Regions from separate parts of the Homo sapiens genome. Here regions 1, 2 and 3 are each linked to region 4. Evidence: promoter capture Hi-C in human tissues and cell types (Jung and others, 2019). All regions are on one chromosome and are shown on one strand. Each heading gives the region's core, a stretch centred on a gene start or on the middle of the fragment in contact. The rest is flanking DNA. Distances are from core to core; before and after follow the strand shown.

Region 1 (5,485 bases), core at 2,544-5,043, 1.0 Mb after region 4:
CACATGAAAAGATGTTCAACATCATCTCTAATGTATTGCAAATTCAAATGCAAATCAAAACCATAATGAGATACTACTTTATATCCACTAGGAAGGCCATAACAATATGAAAAAGAAATTTAATAAGTGTTGGTGAAGATTTAGAGAAACTGGAACCCTTGGTGCATTGCTGGGACATAAAAGGGTACAACTGCTGTGGAAAAAAGCTTGATGGTTCCTTAATAAGTTAAATCTAGAATTACCCTATAACCCAGCAGTTCTACTCCAAGGCATATACACAAAATAACTGAAACAAATGTTTAAACACAGACTTGTACATGAATATTCTCAACAGTACTATTCACAATAGCCAAAAGGTGGAAACCACCCAAATGTCCATCAAATGATGAATGAACAAAATGTGGTATATTTATGATGGAATATTATTCAGCCCTGAAAAGAAACTATTGATACGTGCTATAATATAGATGAAACTCAAAAACATTATATTACATGAAAGAAGCCACACATTAAGATTCTATGTATATGAAATGTCGGCCAGGCGTGGTGGCTCATGCCTATAATCCCAGCACTTTGGGAGGCCGAGGTGGGTGGATCACTTACAGTCGAAACCAGCCTGGCCAACACGGTGAAACCCCGTCTCTACTAAAAATACAAAACATTAACTGGGCGCGGTGGCGCATGCCTGTAATCCCAGCTACTCAGAAGGTTGAGACAGGAGAATCGCTTGAACCTGGGAGGCAGAGGTTGCAATGAGCCGAGATCATGCTATGGCACTCCAGCCTGGGTGACGGAGCAAGACTTTGTCTCAAAAAAAAAATAAATACATAAAAAATAAATAAATAAAATTAAAATTAAAAAATAGTGGTGATGGTTTGCACATTATGAAGGTACTTAAACACTACTAAATTGTACAATTAAAATAGTACATTTTATGTTATACGTATTTTGCTACAATTTAAAATTACTACCATAAATCCCTATTTGCCAAACAACATATACAATATGATCTCAATAACAAAAACAAAAAAAAACTACAGTGTTTTTCAAACTATCTTCTTCCTGAATCTCTAGACTCTCCACCGTGTCCGGGAATCTCTGAACTCACAAAGAGGAAACCAGTGTCCTTTTCAACAGTTTCTCACTGGTATCTAGTACAGCACCTGGCAAATAGCACTGTGCTCAATAAACCTCACTCAACAGATCTCAGCCTAATAATTTCAGGGGCAGAGGGGCCTCTGCCAGAGTTGCTCAGCTTTTACTCACTTTATATACATTTCTACATTTTCATTTTTAAGAGTTCCACTGTCTTAAAAAGAAAGACAATTGTTAATAGCTACTGATCTAGACAACTGCCAAAATGTTTATGAAAATCTGAATCAGGTTAAAAAATGTCTGGCACTAAACTGTTCACAAAATAGAGGCAATGTGTGGCTTTCTTGGGGGGCAGGAAGGCAATAACTAGGAACTGATACTGTACTAGCAAAGTTCTAACTAGCCTAAATAGAAAAATCTTGCAGCAGTAAAGCAATCACATGCTATTTGGTTAAAAGAAAAAAAGACCCAAGTTACATTTTCACCTTTTACAATCATCAAAATTAGATTTTAAAAATACATTAAAACAAAAAGCTTTCAAGTACCCACAAGCCATAATAAAGTCAAATTTTACAGGTGCCAATGGTGGTATACAGAAAAACAACAACAACAACAACAAATGTACTGGTAAAAAGTACTTATGAAAAAAAATATAACTGACTTAATAAAGGAAGCTATTTGTATGGTGGGGGGTGGGGAGAAACACAGATTTAACAATAAGACACTTGATAAGCTTGGTATTTAATTCCAATCTGGGAAAAGGTCTTGGAATGGGGTTTGCATAAGAGAAAGGTGTTTGGAAAGCCAGCTCCACACTATATCCATTCTACAAACTGCCTTTCTGACATTCTACTTGGAGACAAACCCAGCCCTAGAGAGCTGTTTAAACAAGTTCAACCTTAAGTCTCAGTTAGAGAATGAAAGCTTTGTTCTCACTCAGAAGAGACGTTTGATGTTTATGCTAAGGAGACCTGTCATTGCAACTTAATTTATGGCTGACTGTAAATACCTGAACATCTAGCAAGGGCCCACCTGCTGCCCAAGAGAATGTCAAGGTAAGACTGAAATGAGTGGGCCTCATTATGAGGGAGTGTGTCCAATGTTCCTGGGACCTATGTGTGCAGACTCAGCTGTCATATTTAGACAATCAGGAAATTGCATTTCTCCTTTGATATCAGTTTATGATGAACATGTAAAACCACTGTTTTCTTTGTTGAGTCTGAATAAACATACTTCTGGCTCAATAGAGCAGGGAAGGATATTTATCCCTGGTATTTTCTTCCTGACCTATTTATTATAGTATGGACGAATGGAGAGGAGACCGTGTATGTCACAGTTTTGAGTGAGAAGAGGGATAGGAATGATTGTTTCAGGCAACTGGGACAATGGAAAAGGAAAAAAGAAATCAGCCAAACTGAGAATAAAACTAATGAGGTTGAGAGATCAAGTTCATTTGGCTGGAATAAAATGGGTAGGTGGTAGGATAAACAGAGATGAAAGAGGTGAGGTAGAAAGAGAGATTATGATGTTCCAAGTAACTCACAAATGTTTGCGGCATTTTTTGAGTAGGTTTAAAATACTATATATACAAGATTATAATAACATTAGAGCAAAACAGAATTGGAATTATTTACCTAGGATTTTACTGAGAGGATGGAAAAGAAATGAATTAATTCAATTAAACAAACTTATTAAGTACTTGAAACATGCAAGGCTCTGTGCAGGCCGAAGCCATATAACAAATAAGCCAGCTCCCCGCACCAATTCTTTGGGCATGGAGAGTGGGAGAAGACAACTATAAACAGTGCAACTCCAACTACCAATACAGGCTGAGGGGAAAAGCAGAGAGGATGGAATCACTGACCGGGAGAACACAAGAGGACGAAGGTCCACACTGGAGGACGCTGGGTTTGGCTAGGAAGAGAAGTGGGGAGAAGCATTCCAGAGAAAAGGAAAAGGGAAAGCAAAGGGCTGTGAAAAAATATTAGCTACACTGGGTTCAGAGTAAATTGACAGTTCGAACAATGCCAAGGTTCCAGCCAAAGGCAAGAAGAGTCAGGGAGACTAAGACCAGATGAAACTGATTGCAATGCTAAGCTAAGGGGTCTAGAGTTGATCCTAGAAGCCACACAACCTCTAGGTCAGACAAACAGGGTGCATTTCCAAAGTTAGATCTAGCCGTAGGATGGAAAACAAATGGGAGATTGAAGGCAGAGAGCCTGGTTAGAAGGTCACTTTTACAGTACTCACAGTTTATAGCACAGTACAATATTTAGAGCACATGTTTTGGACTTGGATAGACTTTGGACCCACTGCTTAACTTCTCTATGCCCTAGTTTTCTCATCTGTAAAATGGGAATAAGAGCCCCTAGCCCCTCAAAGAATAACTACATAGAGTAAATGATACAACACAGGTGCTTAGCATAATACTTTAGTATATAGTAAACATTCAGCAAATCAGATGCTTTTATTACAATTGTCACCTGAACTCCTCATAGTTTGTGGTAGTTCCAACAAGCAGAAAAAAAGTCCATTTGTGTGTAAACTTTTTTTTTTGAGACAGGATCTCACTCTGTCACCCAGGGTGGAGTGCAGTGGTGCAATCATGGTTTGCTGTAGCCTCAATCTCCTGGTCTCAAGCTATCCTCCCACCTCAGCCTCCCAAGTAGCTGGGACCACAGGCACACGCCACCAAGCCCTTGTAATTTTTAAAAATGTTTTGTAGAGACGAGGTCTCACTATATTGCCCAGGCTAGTCTCAAACTCCTGGACTGAAGCGATCCCCTGTACCTCATTCTCCAAAGTGTTGGGATTACAGGCATGAGCCACTGTGGCCGGTCTCTGTGTGTAAACTTCCAAAGGGCAAGGACAGACTCTTTCCTCAGGATCCCTCTCAGCATTCAGCTTGGTGCTAGGCACATCCTGGATATCAGAAATGAACACTGACTGATTACAATTCAATCTTATCTTCTACAGGTATAAAAGGTAATATGCAAACATATACCAAAGCAATATACAAGGATGTGGGGCAAGGTGAGTCCTCTACCACAAAAAAAAAAAAAACCCAGAAAATACTTCAATTCCCAGATTCCTCAACTCAAACATCCCAAGCACCTAAAAAACTTATTTCCAAAGCATCCACAATCCCCTCTCCCCTCCACTCACAAATATCTAGAAAAAAGTTATAGTCAGATGAAAGCCACATGTGGTCAAAGGATTTATTTTTATATGTGAGTGATGGGATGGCTGGGCACCAGGTCTCAAGTACCCTCATGCCTATCTTGGGGTATTTCTCATTATTCCCCTCTCTTGCTTTACCTATTTTCACCATCACCATTTGACTCACCCCCACCCAATGCATACATTTTTTAAACCACCACCTAGTTACTATTTCACAGTTCCTACAGGTCAGAAGTCCAGGCACAGCACCGACAGTGCCAGTTAGGGCTGCCTTCTCATCTAGGATTGGGTCCTCCTCCAAGCTTACTGGTTGTTGACAAGATCCACTGCCTTGCAGATGAAGGACTGAGGTCCCCATGTTCCTCCTAGCTGTCAGCTGGGAACCACTCTCAGCTCCTAGAGTTTGCCTGCAGTTCCTTGCCATGTGGCTGTTGGGATCGGCAGTTCACAACATGGACGTCTGCTTGCTTCCAAGCCAGCTGGAACATCTGATTTCCTCTTGTGCAATCAGCTGAGAAATCTCTCTGCTTTGAAAGGGCTAGTTCAATCAAGACAGACCCACCATGATAACCTCCTTTAGATGGCTAAAGGTCAACTGATTGAGACCTTAATTCTATCTACAAAGACTAGCATTTGACTGAATACCTGAAGCAGGTGTGTGTACACCAAACATGGGGAATCTTGGGGAAGTGAGGAGCAGAAGGTGGACTGTAGTAGGCACAACTGCTTTACATTTTATACTTTTGTTTATTGTCCACCTCACCTGGCAGAAGGTAAGCTTTCTGAGAGAAGGCAATTTTGTCTCCTTTCGTTTACTACTGTATCCCTAACACCTGCAACAATGCCTAGTATATGACAGGTGCTCAATAAATATGTGTCAAGGGACCCTTTGGATCAGGGGTCCCCAACCCCTGGGGCCACAGACCGGTACTGGTCCACGGCCTGTTAGGAACCAGGCCACACAGCAGGAGGTAAGTGGCAGGCGGGTACCTGAGCTCTGCCTCCTGTCACATCAGCGGCGGCATTAGATTCTCATAGGAGTGGGAAACCTACGGTGAACCGCGCATGCGAGGCATCTAGCTTGCATGCACCTTATGAGAATCTAACATGCTTGATGTGCCTGATGATCTTTCTTTTCTTTTTTTTTTTTTTTGAGGAGTCTCACTCTGTTCCCCAGGCTGGAGTGCAGTGGCGTGATCTCGGCTGACTG
Region 2 (5,250 bases), core at 1,859-4,358, 1.9 Mb after region 4:
TCGCTCCTTTCTTACCATGCCCTAAGAATGTGACCTCTGATAAGATCAGTAACATGAAGAACTAAACTGATACTTTGGGCTCGTTTTTTAATTTAATTACAGTTTTTATCAAATACTTGATTTTTTTTTTTCTTCCCTGGCAAATTTATTTCAGGAATGTGCTTGTCTGAGACTTCTGATGGCTGAGGTTTCTTAGGTACATCTTGTGACTTGAATGCAGAATTTGATGCAATCTGGATAGATTAGGAAATACCTTCTCTAAGGTACTTATTACGTCTGGTTGACTTTGTAGAGCTGATCCAAGAGCAGGCAAATTGCTTCCAACAGACACAGTCCAGAAAAGCAGCTCTGTAGCAGGCATCTCTTGACACCACAGTATATTCTGGGTAGCTGCTCTGCAGTAATGCAGCCCTGTCGTTCTGGGCAGTGTTGTTATTCCTGCTGCATAATTAGCAACTAGTGAGATCATAGTCTGGGGAGATTCTGGCATTACTGAGGCAAGGGAGGGTTCGTGTCTCATCACACATGGCTCCCGCTTTGACAGCATTTCTGCTGAGCAGATTCGTGTCCTTCTGGAACTTAAATCCAAAGATGGAGGAAAAAGATTTGTACCTAGGGAAATGGACTATCTCAGACTCCTTGGTTGTATGAAAGTGTGTTGAAAACAACACTGCATGCCATATTGATATAACCAGAATAAATAGTTACTTCTCTTGCTATTTGTTTTCCCCTTGCTGATTTCTTTATAGAGGGCAAAGATTGTAAAGCTACAATGTCCTTGCACAGAGGATGGTGACAGACCAGATGAGCCCTATTTTATGGAGCAGTATGAGATTGGGAAAGATTCTGGGTTTTGAAGCCATGCAGATTCTAATCTTGGGTCCATTCTTTGGTACCAAATTTGACCTTTATAGAAGCCTGGTGAAACACTTTACACTTATGAAGATCTGGGTAAAGGGTTTTCCTGACTGCTAATGTCCTTCAAAATTGAGTGCCTGGAGCAGTATTTCCCAAAGTGTATTCCAAGCATTATTTGCACTCTAAAATACCTTGGAAACAGTGGGTTCCTTAATCACGTTTGTAGAAACACTGCATTCTGTGTTCTCTCAGCCTTCACCATCCTTATTAGTATATTAAAAGCCTCTAAGAAGTTCCACTATAGGCAATTTTTAAAACCCTTTTGACACAGCAGTCGTATTTCTATGTAAAAGCTATTAATACCATAAGACACGCACTTTGGGAAATGCCGGGCTGTATTATCACTAGGAAAAATAAGTGGGTCTAGCCGGGTTCAGTGGTGTGTGCCTTGTAGTCCCAGCTACTCTGGAGGCTGAGGCAGGAGGATTGCTCGAGCCCAGGTGTTCAAGACCAGCCTGGGCAACATAGTGAGACCCTGTTTCTAAAACAGATAAATAGTTGGGTCTAGTCTTGGTTTAGGCAAAGCCTAATTCTGCTTTTCTTTTTTTCCTTTTTTTTTTTTTTTTGCCAACCAAACAAGCAGCAGTGATAATTGTGTTTTTGATTTCAAGTTCTTCTCACTGGTGCCTTGGAGAGCTTTTCTATATGATCAGAAGAGCAGCTACTGTGATTCCTGGGCTAATGAAGCCTAGACCCCAGCTGGATTGGAAGCAAAGGCCTTTCCTTCACTGGGAAAGGTGCTGCTGCTACCCATCTCATTATTCTAAGAGTGATTGAGAATAGAGGGGCTGAAGGGAAACGAAAGTAGGAGAATGTTGGCCAGAGCTAGTAGAGAAAGAACGTAATATTGAGAAAGCAGACATCAGTGCTAGGTGAGGTGCTTTCTTTAGAGAGCTGTGTGTATAGACTGGGGAGGAGTCTGTCTGGGGACAGGAATGCTGATTCCTTTTTTTCCCTGGGCAGAATCCTAATGTACCTGGCTAGCTGGTGGTGAGTAGGGGCTTTGGGGCCAACTTGGTGGGCTCCCCAAGGAAACCCCTTTGAAACCAATGGATGCATTCACGGGCTCGGGTCTCAAGAGGAAGTTTGATGATGTGGATGTGGGCTCATCAGTTTCCAACTCAGATGATGAGATCTCCAGCAGTGATAGTGCTGACAGCTGCGACAGCCTCAATCCTCCTACCACTGCCAGCTTCACACGTGAGTAAGCTGCTCCGTCCCTGCCTATACCCACATTCCCCAAGCAGCAGAACCCATGGCAGCTCGAGACAGCGTCTGTGTGGCTTGGGGATTTGCCCTTAATCATCATCTTTCCTTGCTCTTTGGAGGACCTCATTTCTCTCATACCGTAGACTAAAGTCTGATTTATTCTAGCTGATTTTACTTGTCTTGTGGGTTGCTGGTTCCCAGAATGGGTTAAATTAGATTGAAAAAGGAGTCTAGGACTCTACCCTGCCCCCACCAGAGTCCCAGAGAGTTCCAGGAAATTGTAGCTGTAGCAGGATATAAATGCTTGCTGCTTGGACAACTGGGGCAAATCCAGATTTCTTAATTCTTTTTTTTTCTCGTTTTGCTCTTGTTGCCCAGGCTGGAGTGCAGTGGCGAGATCTCAGCTCACTGCAACCTCTGCCTGCCGGGTTCAAGTGATTCTCCTGCTTCAGGCCTCCCCAGTAGCTGGGATTATAGGCACCTGCCACCACGCCCGCCTAATTTTTTGTGTTTTTAGTAGAGACAAGGTTTCATCATGTTGGCCAGGTTGGTCTTGAACTCCTGACCACAGGTGACCCACCCGCCTCGGCCTCCCAAAGTGCAGGGATTACAGGCGTGAGCCACTGTGCCCGGCCAAGCTTTCTTAATTCTTACGGCTCTATTAGTTCTTGGAAAGAACTGATACTATATATGAGGGGTTGCCCATGGGCCAAATCTGGCCCAATGCCTGTTTTGTTGGAACACAGTTATACCCATTGTGTATGATTGCTTTCATGCTACAGTGGCAGAGTTGAATTATTGCAACAGAGACCTCATGGCCTGTAGAGCCTAAAATAGTTACTGTCTGGCTCTTGACAGTTTGCTGTCCCCTGCTACAGATCAATGCTATCCAATGGAATTTTCTGTTATGATAGAAATGTTCTGTATCTGCATTGTCCAACAGTAGCCAGTTGCCATATGTGGCTATTGAGCACTTGAAATGTGGTTAGTGGCTGGGCGCAGTGGCTCACGCCTGTAATCTCAGCACTTTGGGAGGCTGATATGGGTGGATCACTTGAACTCAGGAGTTCAAGACCAGCCTGGGCAACATGGCGAAACCTCGTCTCTACAAAAAATACAAAAATTAGCTGGGTGTGGTGGTGTGCAACTGTAGTCCCAGCTACTCTGGAGGCTGAGGTGGGAGGATTACTTGGGCCTGGGAGGTTGGGGCTGCAGTGAGCCGTGATTGTGCCATGCACTCTAGCCTGGGTGACAGAGCAAGAGCCTGTCTCAAAGGAAAAAAGAAAATAAAGAAATATGGTTAGTATAATTGAGCTGAATTTTTGTTTGTTTGTTTTTGAGATGGAGTCTTGCTCTGTCGTCAGGCTGAAGTGCAGTGGCACAATCTCGGCTCACTGCAACCTCCGTCTCCCAGGTTCAAGTGATTCTCCTGCCTCAGCTTCCTGAGTAGCTGGGACTACAGGCATGTGCCACCATGCCCAGCTAATTTTTGTATTTTTAGTAGAGATGGGGTTTCATCCTGTAGGCCAGGATGGTCTTGATCTCTTGACCTCATGATCTGCCTGCCTCGGCTTCCCAAAGTGCTGGGATTACAGGCATGAGCCACCATGCCCGGCCTGAGCTGAATTTTAAATTTTATTTAATTTTAATTAGCTTAAATTGCCACACATGGCTAGTAGCTGCTGTATTGGACAGTAAAGCTGTAGATTCTTATATCCAGAAAAGATTAACTAGAGATCCTCTTCCCAGCTGATGTCTAAAAATGGATTTTGTGGTCATCTGTTTAGGTATAGTCAGTCTGGAGGCAGTTGTATGAACCAGCTGAAGTTCAAGGTCCCTTCTGACAGAGCATTTAGGATTTGAAGATATTAGACAGTTCTCTAGATATAGAGAGCACGTTTAGAGAAGAAGAGTTGAGAGCCTAGATGGATGAGAAAGAGCAAGCTCCCCAAACAGGTCATCCCTGAGTTAATAAAGCATCTCTCGGCCAGGCATGGTGGCTCACACCTGTAATCCCAGCACTTTGGGAGGCCGGGGCGGGCGGATCACCTGAGGTCAGGAGTTCAAGACCAGCCTAGTCAACATGGCGAAACCCCATCTCTACTAAAATACAAAAATTAGCTGGGCGTGGTGACACACGCCTGTAATCCCAGCTTCTCAGGAGGCTGAGGCAGGAGAATTGCTTGAACCCGGGAGGTGGAGGCTGCAGTGAGCCGAGACAGTGCCACAGCACTCCAGCCTGGGCAACAGAGCGAGACTCCATCTCTAAATAAATAAATAGAAAAATAAATAAAACATCTCTCTGTGCTCCCTTCTCAGCCACATCCATCCTGAAGCGGCAGAAGCAGCTGCGGAGGAAGAATGTACGCTTTGACCAGGTGACTGTATACTACTTTGCCCGGCGCCAAGGTTTTACCAGTGTGCCCAGCCAGGGTGGTAGCTCTCTGGGCATGGCCCAGCGCCATAACTCTGTACGGAGCTATACACTCTGTGAGTTTGCCCAGGAACAGGAGGTGAACCATCGAGAGATTCTGCGTGAGCACCTGAAGGAAGAGAAACTCCATGCCAAGAAAATGAAGGTGCCTAAGTGTTCTGGGATCTACTGCTGTCCATGTAGGAAACCATTTAGGTTCATTGGTTGGTTGGTTGATTGATTTTTTTTTTTTTTTTTTTTCTGGGACAGAGTCTTGCTCTGTCGCCCGGGCTGGAGTGCACTGGCATGATATTAGCTCACTGCAACCTCGGCCTCCCCAGGTTCAAGCGATTTCTTGTGCCTCAGCCTCCCGAGTAGTTGGGATTACAGGTGTGCATCCGTCTTGTTTTTGTATTTTTAGTAGAGACAGGGTTTTGCCATGTTGCCCAGGCTGGTCTCGAACTCCTGGTCTCAAGTGATCTACCTGCCTCGGCCTCCCAAAGTGCTGAGACTACAGGTGTGAGCCACTGCACCCAGCTGATTTTTTTTTTTATTTGACTGTTGTCCTTGGGGTATAGAGATTTCAACTCTTTCTAATGAAAAATCTCAGATTTGAAATCAAATCTCAGTCCAAGACTCCCGTCTTTGCATCTGGCAGGGGAGTCTACCAGATATAGCAAAATGGCTTCCCTAGAATTTCCCCCTCCCAA
Region 3 (5,265 bases), core at 1,691-4,190, 1.0 Mb after region 4:
CAATGCTCTGCTCACAAGCGAACTCCAGATGTAGAATGGAGGACCATCTATGTTTAGTCTAAGATTAACTTTACTGTCTTTATAAAACTCAACATTGCTTCATTTGACTCATTCAATGTATCTCTATATATCCAATCACCCTTACCATCACAAGTGACTCTTAACTGTCTTACTCCCACCCCCAATCAAATAATTAATACATTATTAATCCCTAGGTCTGGTAGATGGGAACTACCATTTACTGCATGCTTACTATGTATTAGGCTCCATGCTAAGGGCTTTACATAAATTATCTCACTTCCCCAAACCACCTGGAAGGTAAGGCGCTGTTATCATCCCCATTTTATAAACAAGAAAACTAAGGCTCAAAGAGGAGGTTATGTAATATTCAAATTCATACAAGCAGTAAGTGGCAAAGCAGGGCTTAAAATCTAGGACTGTCTGACTCTATAATCTATGCTTTTAATGACAACAGTATAGAACCACCAAAATGTTTCTCAAATTAGCCCCCGCCTCTCCATCTCCGTCCGCCTGTCCTACTTTTGGACCTTCTCTAAAAGACTTCCAACAGGTCTTTTGCCTCCCATCTCAGCCTGCTCTTGCCCTGTGCACCCACACACACCCCGCCTCACCCCACCCTTCCCAACAGAAGGCTGGTAGTGAATGAATTCATCCTCCACACCACTGCCAGAATTCCTTCCAAAGGAAAAAATGAACATTCATTTCCCACATGGAAACTTTCAGTAGAAGCCCCTTACCTAGAAGATAAAGGTCAGCCCTCAAGATCCTGTACACCTGGGGCAGCCTGACGTCCCCCTGCTTCCCCAGCACAAGCACATCATGCTGGTCTCCTCATCATAAAAGTTCTTTAAACATACAGTGGACCTTCATGCCTTTGTCTTTTTACTCAAGGTATTTTCATTGGCCTGGAATGTTCTTTGCCCTCTCGCCTCTCTTAAAAATTCCAACTCATTCTTCAAGACTCCTTTTTTTTTTTTTTTTTGAGATGGTGTCTCGCTCTGTCACCCAGGCTGGAATGCAATGGTATGATTTCGGCTCACTGCAACCTCCACCTCCTAGGTTCATGTGATTCTCCTGCCTCAGCCTTCTGAGTAGCTGGGATTACAGGTGCCCGCCACCACACCCAGATAATTTTTGTATTTTTAGTAGAGATGGGGGTTTCATCATGTTGGTCAGGCTGGTCTCGAACTCCTGACCTGAGGTGATCTACCCGCCTCGGCCTCCCAAAGTGCTGGGATTACAGGTGTGAGCCACCGTGCCTGGCCTTTTTTTTTTTTTTTTTTTTGAGACGGAGCTTTGCTCTTGCTGCCCAGGCTGGAGTGCAATGGCATGATCTGGGCTCACTGCAACCTCTGCCTCCCGGGTTCAAGCAATTCTCCTGCCTCAGCTTCCCAAGTAGCTGGAATTATAGGCGTGTGCCACTACACCCGGCTAATTTTTTGTATTTAGTAGAGACGAGGTTTCACCATGTTAGTCAGGCTGGTCTCAAACTTTTGACCTCATGTGATCTGCCCGGCCTCAAGACTCCTTTAAATGTGCCCTCCTCTGTGAGACTCTTCCCAACAATTCCTGTCTCTCTGATCCAATCCTGGGTCAGCCTTTTTTTTTTTTTTTTTTTTGAGACGGAGTCTCGCTCTGTTGCCCAGGCTGGAGTGCAGTGGCGTGATCTCGGCTCACTGCAAGCTCCGCCTCCCAGGTTCACACCATTCTCCTGCCTCAGCCTCTTGAGTACCTGGGACTACAGGCGCCGCCACCACGCCCGGCTAATTTTTTGTATTTTTAGTAGAGACAGGGTTTCACCATGTTAGCCAGGATGGTCTGGATCTCCTCTGACCTCATGATCCACCCACCTCAGCCTCCCAAAGTGCTGGGATTACAGGCGTGAGCCACCGCGCCTGGCCGGGTCAGGCTCTTTCTAATCTGTTTAAAACCATATCACCCAGAAGGTATTCAGTATATACTTATTTAAATGAATTGAAAGTCATATGAGCAGCATGGACTTACTACTTTAAAAACCACATTATTAGAAACCTAACACCTTGGAAGCTCTGCATATTCTGAATGAAGAATATACTAAACCACTCAGAGGGAAATAGTTATTAACCATTTTACCACAGACGACTAAACAACTACCATGGCCCTTCCCTTGTTTCAGCTGGTCTGGGTCTTAAAAAGACTTTGGAAAACCCAATCTACCCTCCTCTAGCAGCAAATCAATTCCCACAGTCAGCCAGGAGGTTCTAACCACTGCCCTACCTCTTTCAACAAGGAACAAGCCCTAGATTTTTGCTGTTTCTAAAAATATGCAGCTTTTAAATATATCCATCATTTTGGTGCTCTCTACTGCAGAGCTTAATAAAAGCAAAGCCACTGAAATTCAGGAGATGTCACAGCTCAAAGTACTCCCGTGTCAAGCAGAATGTCTGGGCATGACTGATGGCATAATTTCCCCACAGAACAACAGTCTTGTCCCACGTCAAGGAAACATACATAAAAACACGCAAAGTTCTCACAAATAAGATCCTCTGCGTTTTAGCTAGAATGGCAACAGTGATCTTTGTGGATGTTTTTTTTCTTTTTTAAGAATGGACTTGAAGCCAAGAATTTGAGACCAGCCTGGGCAACAAAGTGAAACCTTCCACAAAAAAAAAAAAAAAAAAAAAAATTGCCAGGCTTGGTGGCACATGCCTGACATCTCAGCTACTCAGGAGACTAAGGTGGAGGATCTCTTGAGCCCAGGAGGTTAAGGCTGCAGTCAGCTGTGATTGCACAATGGCACTGCAGCCTGGGCAACAACAGAGCGAGACCATATCTTAAAACAAAAAAAAAAAAAAAAAAAAAGGAATGCAATACCATTGTCACAAAAATAATGGTTTATCTTCATTAAAAAAATTCTTTACGAGGCAGGCGGATCACTTGAGGTCAAGAACACAAGACCAGCCTGACTGATGTGGCGAAACCTTGTCTCTACTAAAAATACAAAAATTAGTCGCTGTGGTGGCGCATTCCTGTAATCCCAGCTACTCAGGAGGCTGAGGCAGGAGAATCACTTGAACCAGGCAGGTGGAGGTTTCAGAGAGCGGAAATTGCGCCACTGCACTCCTGCCTGGGAAACAGAGCAAGACTCTGTTTCTAAATAAATAAATACATAAATAAGTAAGTAAAAAAATTCTTTTGCATTCATGTTCACATTTAATAGCTAGCTGAGCTATACCCTGAGACCTAAACAACCCCGAGCTCCTTTATCTTAAATTCTCGTCTTATGCCAAGGTCCAGTGTTTGGTTCATTTCCCTCATCTGAGAAAGACTTGGTCAACAAAAGGCAGTACAGGAAATAGTGCTGATGCTATGCTGGAGGCCCACACTGCCTTTATTTTCACCCCCACCAAAAACCCTTGGGCAACTGGTACAAGTCAATGATTCACCAAATCCCAACTCTAAGCTTTACTGGATGTCCTTAAACTCCCCTTGTGGTTGCTCAGAGATCAATGATTAGCTGTCACCACCTCACAGGAATCTGGCACACTCCTGTTTCTCAAAAGGGGCCCTGAAATTGAGCACTCCACTGCTCAGGTGGGACCAGCTGAATTTTAATAGATGTACGTACAGTTGCAAAGCTTAGAGAGGCAGGACTTCTGTAGTGGATAATTGTGTACTAGACCTTGGGAATCCCACGGAATGAGAGATTTTCTGTGAACCCATTATCTTATCTTATTACACGTCAGACTCCAAAAGAAGGGGAACTAGGAAACCAAATGACTCAATGCTGGTAGAAACAAATGCAGGGCCTCCAGCCTTCTCTACAAGCACTCTATCCTGCTGGGAAACTGATGAAAGCCAACCACAGACATGATGCCCTGAAGAACTTGGTACCTGAGCCAGACCCTGAGGTGGAGAGATCGTAGACAAGATCCTGGAGCGTCTTGTCTTTGGAGAGACACATCTCACATGAGGGATCTTCCATGTCCAGTCTCTGGCGGTTGTGATAGACACGCTGATGATAGTTAATGACAAGGAAAACAATGATGATGATGAGGAACAGGAGGAACACCGGGCCGGCGATGATGCCTACCAGCTCCACCGGGCCCCACATGGACGGGTGCTCAGGCTCCTTGAGGTGACCTGAGTCAAGTGAGAGAGGAGAGGGAAAGAATGAGAAGTAAAAACAAGGGAAAGAGTAAAAACACCCCCCTCAAAGTGAAGAGTGAAAAAGACCCCTTTCCCTGTCGATGTGTTCAGGCTCCCTTGATCTCTCTAATCTTCTGGGCTAGTCTTGCTGCCTAGATGCTCTCAAATGCCCAACTTCTTTAGTTAAGGCACCTCTTTCCACAGTCAAACCCACAACCCACTTTGTCACCTCACGCATTTCGTGGTACTATCCCCGCCTCAGGCCCCTACACAGATGCCTGTTTCTGCCCTTTAACTTCCCACAGCTCCTCTAAGCTCTGCTTTAGTTTCTCTCCTTTTCCTGTGGGCTCCACAGTAATGCCTCCTGAATGGTAGGCTTGCAAAAGGATGGTATGTGGTGTTTCTCGGCTTTGGTCACTGGCCTTTTCCTATTCTGGTCCCTCCTCACATCTAACCATCATCCTCCCTTGAGGAGTCACCTTTGCTCGGCTCTGGGGCCATCTCTTTCTGGATCAGTCCCACATCCTCCCGTGGGAATCCCTGCCTGGTTCTTCCACTCCTCACCGCTGCCTATGGCTGCTAAGCCACTACTCTAAACACTGCGGGCACCTCTGGGACTAACTTGAAAATCTGCTTCCTCACCCTCTAATCTACAAAAGCAACTGCTGAGAAACCCCAGCCTTTGTCACCTTCGGGAACATCCAAAAGGCATCTTTATCGTCAAACCAAGTGAGTGGGCAAGAGTAGAAAAAAATGAAATGACGGGGTACCCTATCTCCAAGCTGAGCCACTAGCCCAACAAGGGCATGCACTCACCACTGGGCACCCTCAAGTCGATCCTGTTGCAGTAGTCAGTGTAGCAGCAGTGGGTGTTGCGCAGGTCCTCCGAGCTCAGGCAGTAGAAGGGCTTCCCGGCAGGGACCAGCTCCACTTTGGGGATGCAGGTGCGCACATGGTGCTCCATCCCATCCAGATTGAAAATGGAAACCATGCAGGCCCCATCTGTCTCACACGTGTAGTTGGCCTGGAGGCAGCTGGTGCACGCACACAGCAGAGCTGCAGGAAATTGGGGAGCAGACATTGACATCAATGGTGAGATCTTTTGCAGGTCCTTTT
Region 4 (4,957 bases), core at 1,074-3,573:
AGGCGTGAGCCACCGCGCCCGGCCTTTAAGAATTCTTTTTAAGAAGCAAAGCAAGGAATTAAGTGTACTGGCTCAATGTATCAAGTTTCTAGGAATTCAAACTATCCTCATTCTATAGTTAGTTCTGAGACCTACCTTAGTTCTTGAAGGTCAATAATGGATCACACTGGAAACTGGTATTGCTGCAAAGAATTTTTTGGTCTCATTTAACAGTAAAAGAGGCGTATGAAGTTGTTTTATGTATTTTCACACAGAACACATAACATCCATTTCCCACATCAGGGAATACTGGTTACTTCACAAAGCCAGTGTGACTGGAAAGAGGAGCGGGGAAACAATCCGATAAACCCCAGATTCCTCAAGAACAGACTGAAAGATGTGACTTGTGCTCAGATACCAGTACCAGCTAAAAAGATTTACTGAAGTGAATTAAAGGAGATGAGGGTTTTCAAGGGGGTAGAGTAAATATGGAAGAACAAGAGAATGGGACGTCAGAGTAAATCCCTTTTATCAGTCTGGATTTCCCTCAACTCGGTAAAACGAAGGACATGAATTGCTGTCCTATGTTCCGCCTCTAAAAATTACACAAAAGTTAAGAAAACACAGATTTTCTTCACTAAATTACGATACTAAACTGTTAAGGTGGCAAATCCAGACCAAGTAAGTACTTTAAGCAATGGTTAGTTTAAAATATATTTAGGACTTTTACTAGCCCACTGGAGAAAAAAATATGAACATTTTTGTAAACTTCAGATGCTTTCGGGCAGCGTCCTAAACTGATGATGACACCTTGATACTTTTAAGTTGCTAAGGAGTCTCAAAGATTATGACCTTGCTCTGCCAGCTGAGAGCAGTGTGGCCTTAAATAATATTCCTTAGCTGAGAAATACCACTAGCTCTCTGCAGTACCTCAGGATGGAAGGAGACAACATGCACAAAAGTGCTTGGTCAACTGTCAAGCGTTACACCAATGAAAGATGTTCAAATGCACCTCAAATTTCTCAACATTTTCCAAAGCCAACCAAAACCCTTAGCTTCTTTGTAATAGAGACGATGAATTACTAGGTAAGAAATGAGCACCCAGAGATAGAAGTTCAAATAATGTTTTGAAGAATGCAAGGTCATGCCAGAGAAAACAAACTATATTCCTCAAACTAAAATCAATGCTACAAGATGTTGGGTCATCACTGCTTTTATAAGCCCATTAGAAATGTAATTAGACTTGCAAGGCACTGATACTCCCCTCCAAGGTTGTCTAAAGAAGTAAGCAACTCCAGCCATTAGTAAGCACTATTTTAAAAGTACCTGCTGGTAGTTGCACAGTTACCTTAAAAAAAAAAAAAAAAAAAAAAAAAAAAGGCTGAAATCTACCATTGGAGCTATCCAAATTCAACCAACATGGAAGCGCCGGAAGCGAAACCTGATCCTGGCATATAGCTGCGCTGAGTAAAAAATGCCTCCAATTGAGTATGAGAAAAAAGCCTAGAAGGAAATCTAGGTGCACACCGGTGCTTCTCCAACACGTGGGCGCACCTAACTGGATTCCCCACCCCCATCTAACGCCAATAGCACCAACCTCCAAGGCTAACACACACACCCTTAGAAGAATACAGGCACAGGGCCCACACTCTAGAAAGGGAAGAGACAACCTAAAAGGACATAAGTGCGCAACACAGGCGCGTTAAAAAGCTTCCCATCTGGGTTCTAGCGCACGCATTGAAGGCGCGCCCGTCTCTACTACCCTCGTGTCTCCTACCGCGCACGCGCACCGCTGCCTTCCCCCGCCCCTCCACCAACTCGCGCTCGCGTTCCAACTGCTCCCCCCCACCACACTTACTCCCCTACCCCCCACTCCGGTCCGCTACAGCCTCGCGCCTTGGAGACGTAGTCTAATGTGCACTCGTCCGCGCAGCAACCGCCTCCTTCCTTCCTCCACGCCTTCACGCGGGCACGGTGATTCACGTCTACGAAAAGGCCTCGCACCACCCGCACACCTTTCTGCGCCTCCTTCCCCAATTCAAGCCAGAGTCTACCATTACTGCCTATTCCAATCTCGCGCAGAAAGGGTGAAAAGAGTGTGAGGGGGAGGGGAAGGTGTCCTTCCCCTCCCCCCCAAACATCCAGAGGCAGTAACCTAACAGGGCCACGCCGCCAGCCTGCCGCAGCCCTCAATTCAGAAAGGAACCAGTGCCAGCAATTCCCCGACTTCAGGAAATCAGTGGATCACGCTCGGAGGGGGGTTTCAGAGCCCAGTCCTTGGCCGCGCTCGGCTGCTCGCTCACCTGAGGCCGCCATGTTGGGAGAGGGAAAGAGAACGCAAAAGACCCGGATGAGGCAATCACGTGATTATAGCGGGCGCGTCGAGCTAGGAGACGCGAAGCTGGGAGGGGGCGGGGAGGTGAGGACGGAGACAGGAGGCGGGGCGGCGCTGCTCTAGGTTCGTAAAGCTGCGCGGCGAGGTGGCACGCCGTCCGACGGGAAGACATGCGCGACATGTGGCCAAAGGGGCGGGGCCTGGGTTGTCGCGAAACCCCTCACGCTTTACGTAGGGCTACACGCGAGCGCGGGGCTGGAGCTGAGTCCTGGCCGGCCTCCTGACGCACAGACTTCCTGCCGGAAGAGTGGCGGGAAGGGCGGGGCTTCGCTGCTGCTTCTGCTTACTCTGCACGGAGCCGGTGATGGGTGTGGCGAAATGGATGTGCTGAAAGGGAAGATTCTGAGTTTAATGTACTTTTTTGAGACGGAGTTTCGCTCCTGTTGTCCGGGCTGGAGTGCAATGGCGTGCGCGACCTCGGCTCATTGCAACCCCCGCCTCTCGGGTTCAGGCGATTCACCTGCCTCAGCCTCTGGAGTAGCTGGGATTACAGGCGCCCACCACCATTCGCTGCTAGTTTTTTGTATTTTTAGTAGAAACGGGATATTTCACCATATTGGCCATGCTGGTCTTGAACTCCTGGTCTCAGGCTATCCACCCGCCTCGGCCTCCCAAAGTGCTGGATTATAGGCGTGAGCCACCGCGCCCGGCCTAGTTTTTAAAAGCCACATCAGAAATCACTGATTTTATTTTTATTTATTTTTATTTTTTGAGACGGGGTCTCGCCCTGTCTCCCAAGCTGGAGTGCAGTGGCGCGATCTCGGCTCACTGCAGCCTCAACCTCCGGGGCTCAAGCAGTTCTTCCACCTCAGCCTCCTGAGTAGCTGGGACCACAGGCGAGTGCCTCCAGGACCAGCTAATTAAAAAAAAGTCTTTGTGTGGAGACAGAGTGGCGGGCTTGGGGGGGGCGGTGTGTCTCCCTGTGTCGCCTGGGCTGGTCTCGAACTCCTGGACTCAAGCATTCCTCCCTCCGAGGCCTCCCACAGTGCCGGGATTACAGGCATCAACCACTGTTTGTTTTCAAATTACTTTTTGTAAAGGCAAAACAAATCGAACGTCTTGTGTAAGAATGGTTTTAATGAGGCATATTTAGACGGAATAAGAAGGTAACAAATGCTGAACACTTAATTGTCATGGGCTTTTACCTCATTTAATGGTCCAATTTGCTGACTAGGTTTAGTCCAACTTAGGCCTTTAGGATTTCTGAGACTAGGGCTATTCATGCTTCCCCTAGCTGATGTTCCATTTCATTCATTAAATGAAAATTTTTGTTTCCCACCGTGTGCCAGGCACAGACACTTGCGGGTACAACATGGAATAGAACTGTCCCAAAAGAGGTTATATTCTAGTGGGGGAAGGACAGATAATAAGCAACTAATAAAATATTACAACAAGTATTCTGTGAGTAATTAAAACAAGGTGGTGTAATAAGTTATTAGGTGCAACTTTAGATTGCCTGTCAGAGTAGACCTCTGAGGAAGTGACATTCAGACAGAGGTCTAAATTACAAGCTGCCATCCCTGGGAATGTCTTCTGAAGAGGTTTAGGAGAAGACAGGATGCGCAGTTGGGTTTGCTGCAATATGGTGAGGGCAGGGGAGGGAGGAGTGGTACAGGATGAATCTTGAGAGAGAGGGGCTGGATCATGTGAGGCTGATCATGTGAGGGGATTGGGAAAGTGTGGAATGATTTAAGGCAGAGAAATGTCATGAGTTGAAATAAAATTTTAAAAAGGATTACTTAGTATCCTGATGTGAGTGGTGGTTACATGGGTGTATATCTAGAATTCGTATACTTAAGATTTGTGAATACTTAAGATTTGTGTACTTTATGTAAGTCACGCGTTAATTAGAAAAAAAGAGATTACTCAGGCTACTGAATGGAGAGTGCAATTGTCAGAGGTGTTTGAACCGGAGCAACTCCTTGAATAGGGCTGGGTAAAATAAGTCTGAGACCTACTGGGCTGCATTCCCAGAATGTTAGGCATTCTTAATCACAGGATGAGACAGGAGGTCAACACAAGTTATAGGTCACAAAGACCTTGCTCATAAAACAGCATGCAGTAAAGAAGCCAGCCAAATCCCATCAAAACCAAGATGGCGACTAAATTGACCTCTCCTCACTGCTTATTATATGCTAAATATAATTCGTTAGCATGGTAAAAGATACTCCCACCAGGACATGACAGTTTACAGATGCCATGGCAATGTGAGGAAGGGGGAGGAACCCTCAGTTCGGGAATCGCCCTCCTCTTTCCAGGGAAAACATGAATAATCCACCCCGTGTTTCCCATATAATCAAGAAATAACGGTAAGTATTCTTAGTCAAGCAGCCCATGCTGCTGCTCTCTGCCTATGGAGTAGCCATTCTTTTATTCCTTTTTCTTTTCTTTTTTTTTTTTTTTTTTGATACGGAGTCTCGCTCTGGCGCCCAGGCTAGAGTGCAGTGGCGCGATCTCGGCTCACTGCAAGCTCCGCCTCCCGGATTCACGCCATTCTCCTGCCTCAGCCTCCCGAATAGCTGGGACTACAGGCGCCTGCCACCGCGCCCGGCTAATTTTTTTTGTATTTTTAGTAGAGACGGG

What was found. Contacts are between HindIII fragments. The study calls those that stand out against the background at their distance.
Region 1: a contact is called between a fragment that was not itself captured here and the fragment with the promoter of EIF4B in region 4, in 1 of the 25 tissues and cell types used here (dorsolateral prefrontal cortex).
Region 2: a fragment that was not itself captured here is called in contact with the fragment with the promoter of EIF4B in region 4 in 1 of the 25 tissues and cell types used here (aorta).
Region 3: a contact is called between a fragment that was not itself captured here and the fragment with the promoter of EIF4B in region 4, in 1 of the 25 tissues and cell types used here (aorta).

What each region holds. Positions count from the first base shown.
Region 1 is chr12:51,958,588-51,964,072 of GRCh38, reverse strand. The region is part of intron 1 of ACVR1B (activin A receptor type 1B); the gene reads right to left. Among named protein-coding and RNA genes, the nearest start is that of ACVR1B, 9.6 kb to the right of the region's middle. The HindIII fragment of the contact is 3,738 bases long and covers 1,925-5,485 here.
Region 2 is chr12:51,073,279-51,078,528 of GRCh38, reverse strand. CSRNP2 (cysteine and serine rich nuclear protein 2) reads left to right here. Exons shown (of 5, transcript NM_030809.3): 2 at 1,882-2,118; 3 at 4,447-4,706. The coding sequence starts at 1,968. Among named protein-coding and RNA genes, the nearest start is that of CSRNP2, 7.7 kb to the left of the region's middle. The HindIII fragment of the contact is 6,508 bases long and covers 1-5,250 here.
Region 3 is chr12:51,975,205-51,980,469 of GRCh38, reverse strand. ACVR1B (activin A receptor type 1B) reads right to left here. Exons shown (of 9, transcript NM_004302.5): 2 at 4,966-5,205; 3 at 3,895-4,143. Among named protein-coding and RNA genes, the nearest start is that of ACVR1B, 26 kb to the right of the region's middle. The HindIII fragment of the contact is 3,472 bases long and covers 1,205-4,676 here.
Region 4 is chr12:53,003,822-53,008,778 of GRCh38, reverse strand. It overlaps EIF4B (eukaryotic translation initiation factor 4B), which reads right to left and starts at 2,323. Exons shown (of 15, transcript NM_001417.7): 1 at 2,283-2,323. The coding sequence starts at 2,295. RefSeq lists enhancers at 1,465-2,208, 2,209-2,952. The HindIII fragment of the contact is 23,564 bases long and covers 1-4,957 here.